Linked DNA regions of Homo sapiens: region 2 is linked to region 1. Evidence: promoter capture Hi-C in human tissues and cell types (Jung and others, 2019). All regions are on one chromosome and are shown on one strand. The core of a region is centred on a gene start or on the middle of the fragment in contact, and the rest is flanking DNA. Distances in the headings are between cores, read along the strand shown.

Region 1 (4,171 bases), core at 1,066-3,565:
TAACACCTAGAAACTACTGACCTTTTTACTTCCTCCATAATTTTGCCTTCTCCAGAATGTCATAAAGATGAAATCGTACAGTACATAGCATTTTCGGATTGGCTTCTTTCACTTAGTAATAGGCATTTAAGTTTCCTCTGTGTCTTTTTATGGCTTGATAGCTCATTTCTTTTTAGTGCTGAATAAGATTCCATTGTCTGGATGTACCACAGATTATCCTTTCACTTACTGAAGGACATGTTAGTTGCTTCCAATTTTTGGCACTTATGAATAAAGCCACTATGAACATCCATGTACAGGCTTTTCTGTGGATATAAGTTTTCAATTCATTTGGGTAAATACTAAGGAGCTGATTTCTGCATCATATGGTAAGATTGTATTTATATCCGTTTGTTTTTATGTATTCTAAAAAAATACATCGAAGCTTTTACTTTTGTTGTCAAATATGTCAGCCTTTGCTTTCATAATTTCTGTCCTTAATGTTGGTTAGAAAGGCTTTTCCACCGCCAAATTGTATAAATCTCTTGTACCTTCTTCTAGTAGTGCAGTGGTTTCATTTTCTTTTTACATTTCAATCTTTGTTTTATTTTGACACAAGGCAGATGTCTAACTTTATTTTCCCTTGGCTTTCTTTTCACTTCCCTAGTTACATACAATTCCCTCCAACTATGTGACCCACACAACAACTCCAAAGGAGTTTCCATTTTGCTCTTAAGGAAACTAGGGCAGAGAGGTAACTCATCACATTTAAAATCACACAGCCATTAATTTACATAGTCAAGGTTCAAACCCAGATCTTTTGATGCAAAGTCCTGTTCTCTCATACTCCAAGTATGGTCCAGGGATGGGTAGCATTGGCAATACCCGAGAGCCTGTTAGAAATGTAGAGTCATGGGCCCCATCCCATACCTACCGAATCAGAATCCGCATTTCTGTTAGGTTGGAGAAGTACTGCAGGGTGTACTGTTTCCCCAGACTTAGGCCACATCAGAGTCACCTAGGGCATCTGTTGAGCTCCATCTCTCCTCAATATTTTAACTCAGTAGGTCTGGACTGAAGACCAGGAATCTGCATTTTAACAAGCATCCCAGCTCATAAATGCATATATGCAGGTGGCCCCATGGATCACACTTGAGAAATGCTCTAAAACAACTAAGAAATATTCCTAAGCTACAATCAAGGACACAAAAGGTGATTATTTCCCCCAATCTCAACTTAGATAAGTGAGTATCCTTTTAACCTAGAAAAGAAACAGGCCAGGGGCGGTGGCTCACGCCTATAATCCCAATACTTTGGGAGGCCAAGGCAGGCGGATCATCTGAGGTCAGGAGTTCAAGACCAGCCTTACCAATATGGTGAAACCCCATCTCTACTAAAAATACAAAAATTAGCTGGGCATGGTGGTGAGCGCCTGTAGTCCCAGCTACTCAGGAGGCTGAGACAGGAAAATTGCTTGAACCCGGGAAGCGGAGGTTGCAGTGAGCCGAGATCGTGCCACTGCACTCCAGCCTGGGCGACAGAGCGAGACTCCGTCTCAGAAAACAACAACAACAACAAAAAACAGCTAGGAGGTGACAATGACTCACATGTCAATATGTGGAAATAAAGTTGTAATAATGAGGATAATGTAATAATGAGAGTAATGACTAAATTTTCGGCTTTACAGAAAAACACATAAAGAAAACTAAGGGGAAAAAGCCTTTAGCTGATCCAGAATTTAGTGAGGGCAATGTGGAGAAGTAGGAGAAACGGCTACTCAAATAGATTCCAGTCCACTTCCCCTCAAGATTGTGTCAATTATGCCCGTGAGCCTGGGTCTCTTGGCCTGTAAAACGGAGTCATAACCACCCGCCCCCGGGAAGACAGAACCTGCCTGTCCACTTTCTGAACTTTTCATCCCCAGTATCGACGTCCAGAGGCCTGAATGAGTAAACGTTCCAGGAGATGGAGCAGCCTCCGGAGGCTCGCTTTGGGCAGCTCAGATTTACCCGGAAGCCGATGCCACCTGGCCAGAGGTGAGGCACCGGCAACCAGAAGGGGGCCCTGAGCATGACCGGTCAGTGCCACCCGGCCGGGAAGACACCATCTCCCCGCCCAGTCCTCTAGAATGACTCCGTCATCAATAATTCATTAAGAACCTCCTCTCAATTGGCTGACGCCTTCAGCCCTCTCTGGCAGAGATCCAATCAGGAAGGACCTGAGAGAGCTCGTCTGAATAGTGGGCGAGCGCGCGTGACGTAGCGGCCGAAGACTGGCTGTGGCAGCACAAGGCGGGGCCCTCCTCGGGCGGCGGCCAGCGCGGCCGGGGCGGCTCAGTGCGAGCCGGGGAGAGTCGAACCCGGAGCAGGGTCCCATCCGAGCGTGGACTGGCGGCAGGATGTTCAGCTGGATGGGGCGGCAGGCGGGCGGGCGCGAACGCGCTGGCGGCGCGGACGCGGTGCAGACGGTGACGGGCGGGCTGCGCTCGCTCTACCTGCGCAAGGTGCTGCCGCTGGAGGAGGCGTACCGCTTCCACGAGTTCCACTCGCCTGCGCTGGAGGACGCCGACTTCGAGAACAAGCCCATGATCCTGCTGGTGGGCCAGTACAGCACCGGCAAGACCACCTTCATCAGGTACCGTCACCGCCCCTCGCCCGGCTCCCGCCCCGCTCCGCCCTCCCCACGTGTGCGCCGCAGTCGGCCGCCTCCCGCCGCTGCCCCTCCCGGCCGGCGCGACCTCGGGGACCCCTCCCGGAGCTCGGCGCCCGGTGCCCTCGGCCCCGCCCCGGCTGGCCAGCCCCGCGCGCTGGAGGGTCCCGCGAACCCGCGCCCTGCGCACTCCGAGCCCTCCTTCCTTGCGGTTCGGAAGGCGTTGCTCCCGCTGGCCTCGTCCGGTCGCCCTGGCGGGAGGGTCCAAGGGAGAGAGGGGGCGCGAGCCATAATCAGCATATTCTTGACGAGGGAGTGATGCCTAGGGATGGAAATGGGGGGAGAGGCGTAGGGTATCCGAATGGGACAGAGTCCTAGTTGGAGAGTTTGTTTAACTATTCATTTGTTCAACTATTTCTTGAACAAATGAATGGCAGCAGGAGAGCGTATCGCCCAGGCCCCCTTCCCTTGAGGTCTTTACGTGCCACCCCACAGTGTTGTGGGGAGGGGATAAAGAGGCCGCCTACGTTCAGTTCATGCACCGCCTTTAGCCGCCCGTAGGAAGTGAGCTGCGTGTAGCAGCCGCACCAGCCTGTGGAACTAAGGGGGAGTGTCATATTACTATTTGTTAGTTTCCATTTCTTAGGTGGGTCATTCCCTCCTCGCTTACCCTTGACAACTGAAAATATTTGTCATGCTTACCGTGTTTCTGAAAGCACACAATCACTGTGCATACCCTGTGGTTCAAATCATATAGTTTCAAAAGAAGTGACTTTTGCTGGGAAATTATTTAGACAGAAACAGATTGCTTTGTTGATCACCTGTTTTATTTCTAAAGCAGCCAGCATATTTAGGCTCACTGTTTTTGGTAAGAAGAACTTATTTTTCTGACTTAAGCCGTGTATCAGTTGAAACAAAGTGCTGATCATTTAAGGTTTTGGTCCAGGGTTTTGGAAATTGTAACAATCTCTTCATCATTTGATGTGCAACAGGTGTTGAGAAAACTGCATCTATATTTGGATACATGCCATTTCTGTTAAGTAGCGACCTCTTTTTCTCCACTCCAGTGACCTAAATAGTTCCTACAAATAGAGTAGCTATCACTACAGGAAATATGTTAAATCCAGGCCTCCAGATACACTGCGAATGAATTCCACAAAACAAATATACTGTGTATTGAAATGTCGTTCTAGATAATAAATTGAGTGTGAAGAAAGTAATTTCAAAATTGCTTTATTTGGTGCTTATGGACAAGACAAAAATAGAATTAAATATGTCACCGTCACCCAGACACTCAAAATGAACCATAGCTGTATTACAGTAACTGGCACCTTGAAAGATGACAAATGTCACATTTAAGGTCTCAGTAATACTGTCTAGTTTTTAGGTACTAGGGATAATAAAGTGTTATGGCCAAGTGGTACAAGAGTGGGAAGCGGTACTGTTGAAACATACAAAGAAGAAAGGCATATATTTTTGTAATTTAGTGGTGGCATGTCCCCACACCCTAGGCATTTCCTCCTGTTTGTCTTTGCTGTGAGGT
Region 2 (4,171 bases), core at 1,119-3,618, 1.0 Mb after region 1:
AGTGGCTCACGCCTGTAATCCCAGCACTTTGGGAGGCCGAGGCGGGTGGATCACCTGAGGTCGAGAGTTAAGACCAGCCTGACCAACATGGAGAAACTCCATCTCTACTAAAAATACAAAATTAGCCAGGCGTGGTGACGCATGCCTGTAATCCCAGCTACTCAAGAGGCTGAGGCAGGAGAATCTCTTGAACCCGGGAGGCGGAGGTTGCGGTGAGCAGCGATCGCGCCATTGCACTCCAGCCTGGGCAACGAGAGAAACTCCATCTCAAAAAAAAAAAAAAATTTTTAAAACATCCCTGCTGTTGTTCCAGCCATTCTATTTTCAGGGATCCCTACACAAGGGTGCCAGAGGGCAGGGCCTCTCAACTTTAATGTGAGAACTGTCTCCTGGGACTCTTATTAAAAATGCAGACTGATCTGCTAGGTCTGGGAGTCATATCCAGTAAGCTCCCAGGTGATGTGGAGGCTGCTGGTCTACAGGCCCTCTCTGAGTAGCCAGAGGATGTTCTTTGGTTATCTCCTCAAAATTTCCCCCCACCCCCGACATCACGCAACAGCCACCCTTACGTCTTGCCACAGTTGCCCGCTCAAGGACAGACAGGGAACCCAGACCCAAGGCAGTCAGGGCTAGCTTCCCTCCCTCATCCCTAACCTTTCATCAGGTGGCCCAGTCAGAGCAAAACAGGCCACTCCCATGGTCATGAACAGAAAAGTTTATCACCCAAGGGCTGCAGAGGAGCCAGCCTGAGGGCACCACTGCCAACAGAGAAGGGCAAACTCCAGGGAAATGGAGCAGGATCCCTGACTGAGCCTTACCCAAAGCTCCCTTCCTCTTAACTGTTGGGTTTCACCACTGACTCCTGTTTGCTTCATGCTTGTTTGAACTCGGTTTTCCGTTACATGCAACTTGGACGAAAAGTCCGTGACAGCATAATTGAACCTAGCAAAAAATTGAGACAACCCAAAAGCCTCACAACATAGGACTGGTGAAATAAATGTTTGCATATCTATATGATAGAATGATTAGGTGGTCATTAAAAATCATTCTCAAGAATATTTGGTATCATGGGAAAATGCTCAGAATATACTCTTAGGAGAAAAGTAGGGCACAAAGAGGGAGCACTAGAAGGAAGTCAGCTTTCCTAGATGGTGGAATTATGAATGATTTCTAAGTTCTTTTATGTCATTTTATTTCTGTATTTCTAGCATATCCTACTTCTCATATTCCTTTCTATTTCTAGTACATATGAACAGCCTATTCCAGAATACCCTTTATCTCATTTTTAAATTTCTCCAAGCATAATGGATACCTCTTATCGTGATACAATCTACAGCTCAAGTGTTGTCTTTTGAGACAGGGATGTCACTCTGTCACCCAGGCTGAAGTGCAGTGACATGATCACGACTCACTGTAACCTTGACCTCCCAGGCTCAAGAGATCCTCCTACCTGAGCCTCTTGAGTAGCTGGAACTACAAGGGTGCGACATCATACCTGGCTAATTTAAAAAAAAAAAAAAAAACGTAGAGATGGGATCTGTGTTGCCCAGGCTGATCTTGAACTTGTGAGCTCAAGCCATCCTCCTGCCTCAGCCTCTCAAAGTGCTGGAACTACAGGTGTGAGCCACTGTGCCCGGCCCAGCTCAAGTGTTCTTTTAAAAACCTGTCACTGAGCCAGGCACAGTGGCTTTTCCCTGTAATCCTAGATACTTGGGGGGCTGAGGTGGAAGCATTGCTTGAGGCCAGGAGTTCAGGACCAGCCTGGACAACAATAGCAAGACCCGGCATGTAAACAAACAAAAAACACTTCTGTCACTGTTCTTCCAAGTCCTTAGTGGTTTCCTGCTGGGCTCAACAAAGGCTGCAGAACTAATGGGATCCTCAGGCCTTGCAACTTTAGCCTGCGACCCTGCTATCTAACATTTTTTTTTCTCTTGGAATGTGCCAGGCTCAGTGCTCCCTCAGGGATGTGATGCACATGGTTCAATTTTTAAATTTTTTTTTCTTGAGACAGGGTTTCACTCTGTCGCCTAGGCTGGAGTACAGCGGCATGATCTTGGCTCGCTGCAGCCTCAATCTCCCAGGCTCAAGTGATCCTCCCACCTCAGACTTCTGAGTAACTGAGACTATAGGTGCCTTCCACCATGCCCAGCTGATTTTTTTTTTTTTTTTTTTTTTTTTTTTTAAGAGACAGGGTTTTGCCATGTTGCCCAGGCTGGTCCTTGAACTCCTGGACTCAAGTGATCCTCCTACCTCTGCCTCCCAAAGTACGTGAATTATAGGTGTGAGCCACCATGCCTGATTTTTAAATTCTTTATAACATTCTGTATTTTCCAAATTTGCTACTTGATCATGTGCTATTTTATAATCAGTGCTATTAAGAGAAAGTTTATATTTTTAGGGAAAATTAAGAAAACTCAAAAACAAGAAATGACTTCAATCAGAACTTTTTAAAAAATTTTTTTTTGTAAAGCTAAGGTCTCACTGTATTGCTCAAACTGGTCTCAAACTCACGGGCTCAAGTGATCCTCCTATCTTGGCCTCCCAAAGTGCTGGGATTACAGGAGTGAGACACCAGTTAAAACTTTCTTATAGTGTGTCTCCCTATTTCAATTCAGTTCATGTGATAAAATAACATGGCCAGGCACGGCGGCTCATGCCTGTAACCCCAGCACTTTGGGAGGCTGAGGTAGGCTGATCACTGGAGGTGAGGAGTTCCAGAACAGCCTGCCCAACATGGTGAAATCCCGTCTCTACTAAAAATACAAAAAAATTAGCCGGGCATGGCGGCAGCACCTGTAATCCCAGGTACACAGGAGGCTGAGGCAGAAGAATAGCTTGAACCTGGGAGGCAGAGGTTGCAGTAAGCTGAGATCATGCCACTGCACTCCAGCCTGGGCCAGAGAGCAAGACTCCATCTCAAAAAATAATATAACACTAAACAAAGATAACATGGTAACCCCCGCTACCCCTGAATGTTTGCAAGGAGACTTTGGAGAAGCTGTACTTCAGACTAAGGAATGACTCCAAAGGCTGCAATTTAAGGCGCCATGGGGAAATATTTTAAAGCAGGTATGTCTTTGTTATGCCTCAGATGCTGAGCTTTGATAATCACTTGCACCGGTTTGTAAGGCTGATGTTTTGGTTTATCTGGGCATAGGACCAGCTTTTCTCTCGGTAGAGAAGGGAGCCCCTCTTCACCGCCCATCACCAAAGTGAGCACCTCTTTACCCTCTGAGTGTTATTTGTGGACCTTCTCTTTTTGGCATAAAAGCTTTTTGTCAGATCTATTTTTTTACTTCTCTACTTATGAATACATGATAAACTTGCACAGTTCAAAATTAAAAACATACAAAAGGGCATAAAAAGAAAGTCTCTCTCCCATCCCATCCCCTGGAGCCCGGTTCCCCTCCTGGGAGGCAAATTATGTTGACAGTTTAAGATTCCTTCCAGACACATTTACATGCTTTTTAAAAAACAGGATTACACTCACGTTATATGTCTAATTTTGTATGCTTTTTGTCCCACTTAACACTACAGTAATAACATTAATAGTTATGTAAAGAGATTAAAATGTTTCTTAACATTAGCAAATACTCTTCATAAACATTCATGACTGCAAATATGCCGTCCAAGGGAGATGAACCATTTTATTGTTTACTGCTGGACAAATAGTTTTCTCCTCTTAAATTCTCCGATTCTGTCCAAGATGAAACTATCTACATGAGTTCAACTAGAGACTGCAGTTTAGTTTAGACCCAGATCAGCCATTTGCTCCCTGGGGACACAGGGCTCTGGGGTCAGGAGGTGGCCCAGCGCCAAGCCAGAAGGATAAGCAGGTGGTCCCTGGTCTACATGGCCTGCAGGGGCTGGCTGTGTGGTCCAGGCCAGTAGAGCAGATATATTTAACTGGGTCAGATGCTGCTGACTGTGTCATGACCCAGGAGGATTGTGCTGTTGGTAAACAAACCAGAATGGCCTGGCTGCAGCCAGCCCTCCTTCCTCCGCCTGCTGACCCGCCAGGGGGTGTGAGAAGTGGAGGAGAGCATGACCAGGGAGACGGCTCAGACACAGGGGCCCCTGCAAGGCATCTCGCCCAGGAAGGATTGGGAAGTGGCCTTGTCTCACTGCCCTTAGTTGTTTTTTTCCTTATTTCCCTCCTGCCGCAGCC

The links. The method cuts DNA at HindIII sites, captures the fragments that hold promoters and counts their contacts. A contact is called where the count stands out against the background at its distance.
Region 2: a contact is called between a fragment that was not itself captured here and the fragment with the promoter of EHD4 in region 1, in 1 of the 25 tissues and cell types used here (spleen).

What each region holds. Positions count from the first base shown.
Region 1 is chr15:41,970,701-41,974,871 of GRCh38, reverse strand. It overlaps EHD4 (EH domain containing 4), which reads left to right and starts at 2,315. Exons shown (of 6, transcript NM_139265.4): 1 at 2,315-2,613. The coding sequence starts at 2,378. PLA2G4E-AS1 (PLA2G4E antisense RNA 1) reads right to left here and starts at 2,109. Exons shown (of 4, transcript NR_120334.1): 1 at 1,874-2,109; 2 at 914-1,068. RefSeq lists silencers at 2,264-2,393, 2,434-2,503, 2,604-2,873. The HindIII fragment of the contact is 6,706 bases long and covers 1-4,171 here.
Region 2 is chr15:40,966,134-40,970,304 of GRCh38, reverse strand. All of the region lies in intron 3 of LOC105370789 (a long non-coding RNA gene), which reads right to left. Among named protein-coding and RNA genes, the nearest start is that of CHAC1, 15 kb to the right of the region's middle. RefSeq lists an enhancer at 1,561-2,212. The HindIII fragment of the contact is 7,984 bases long and covers 1-4,171 here.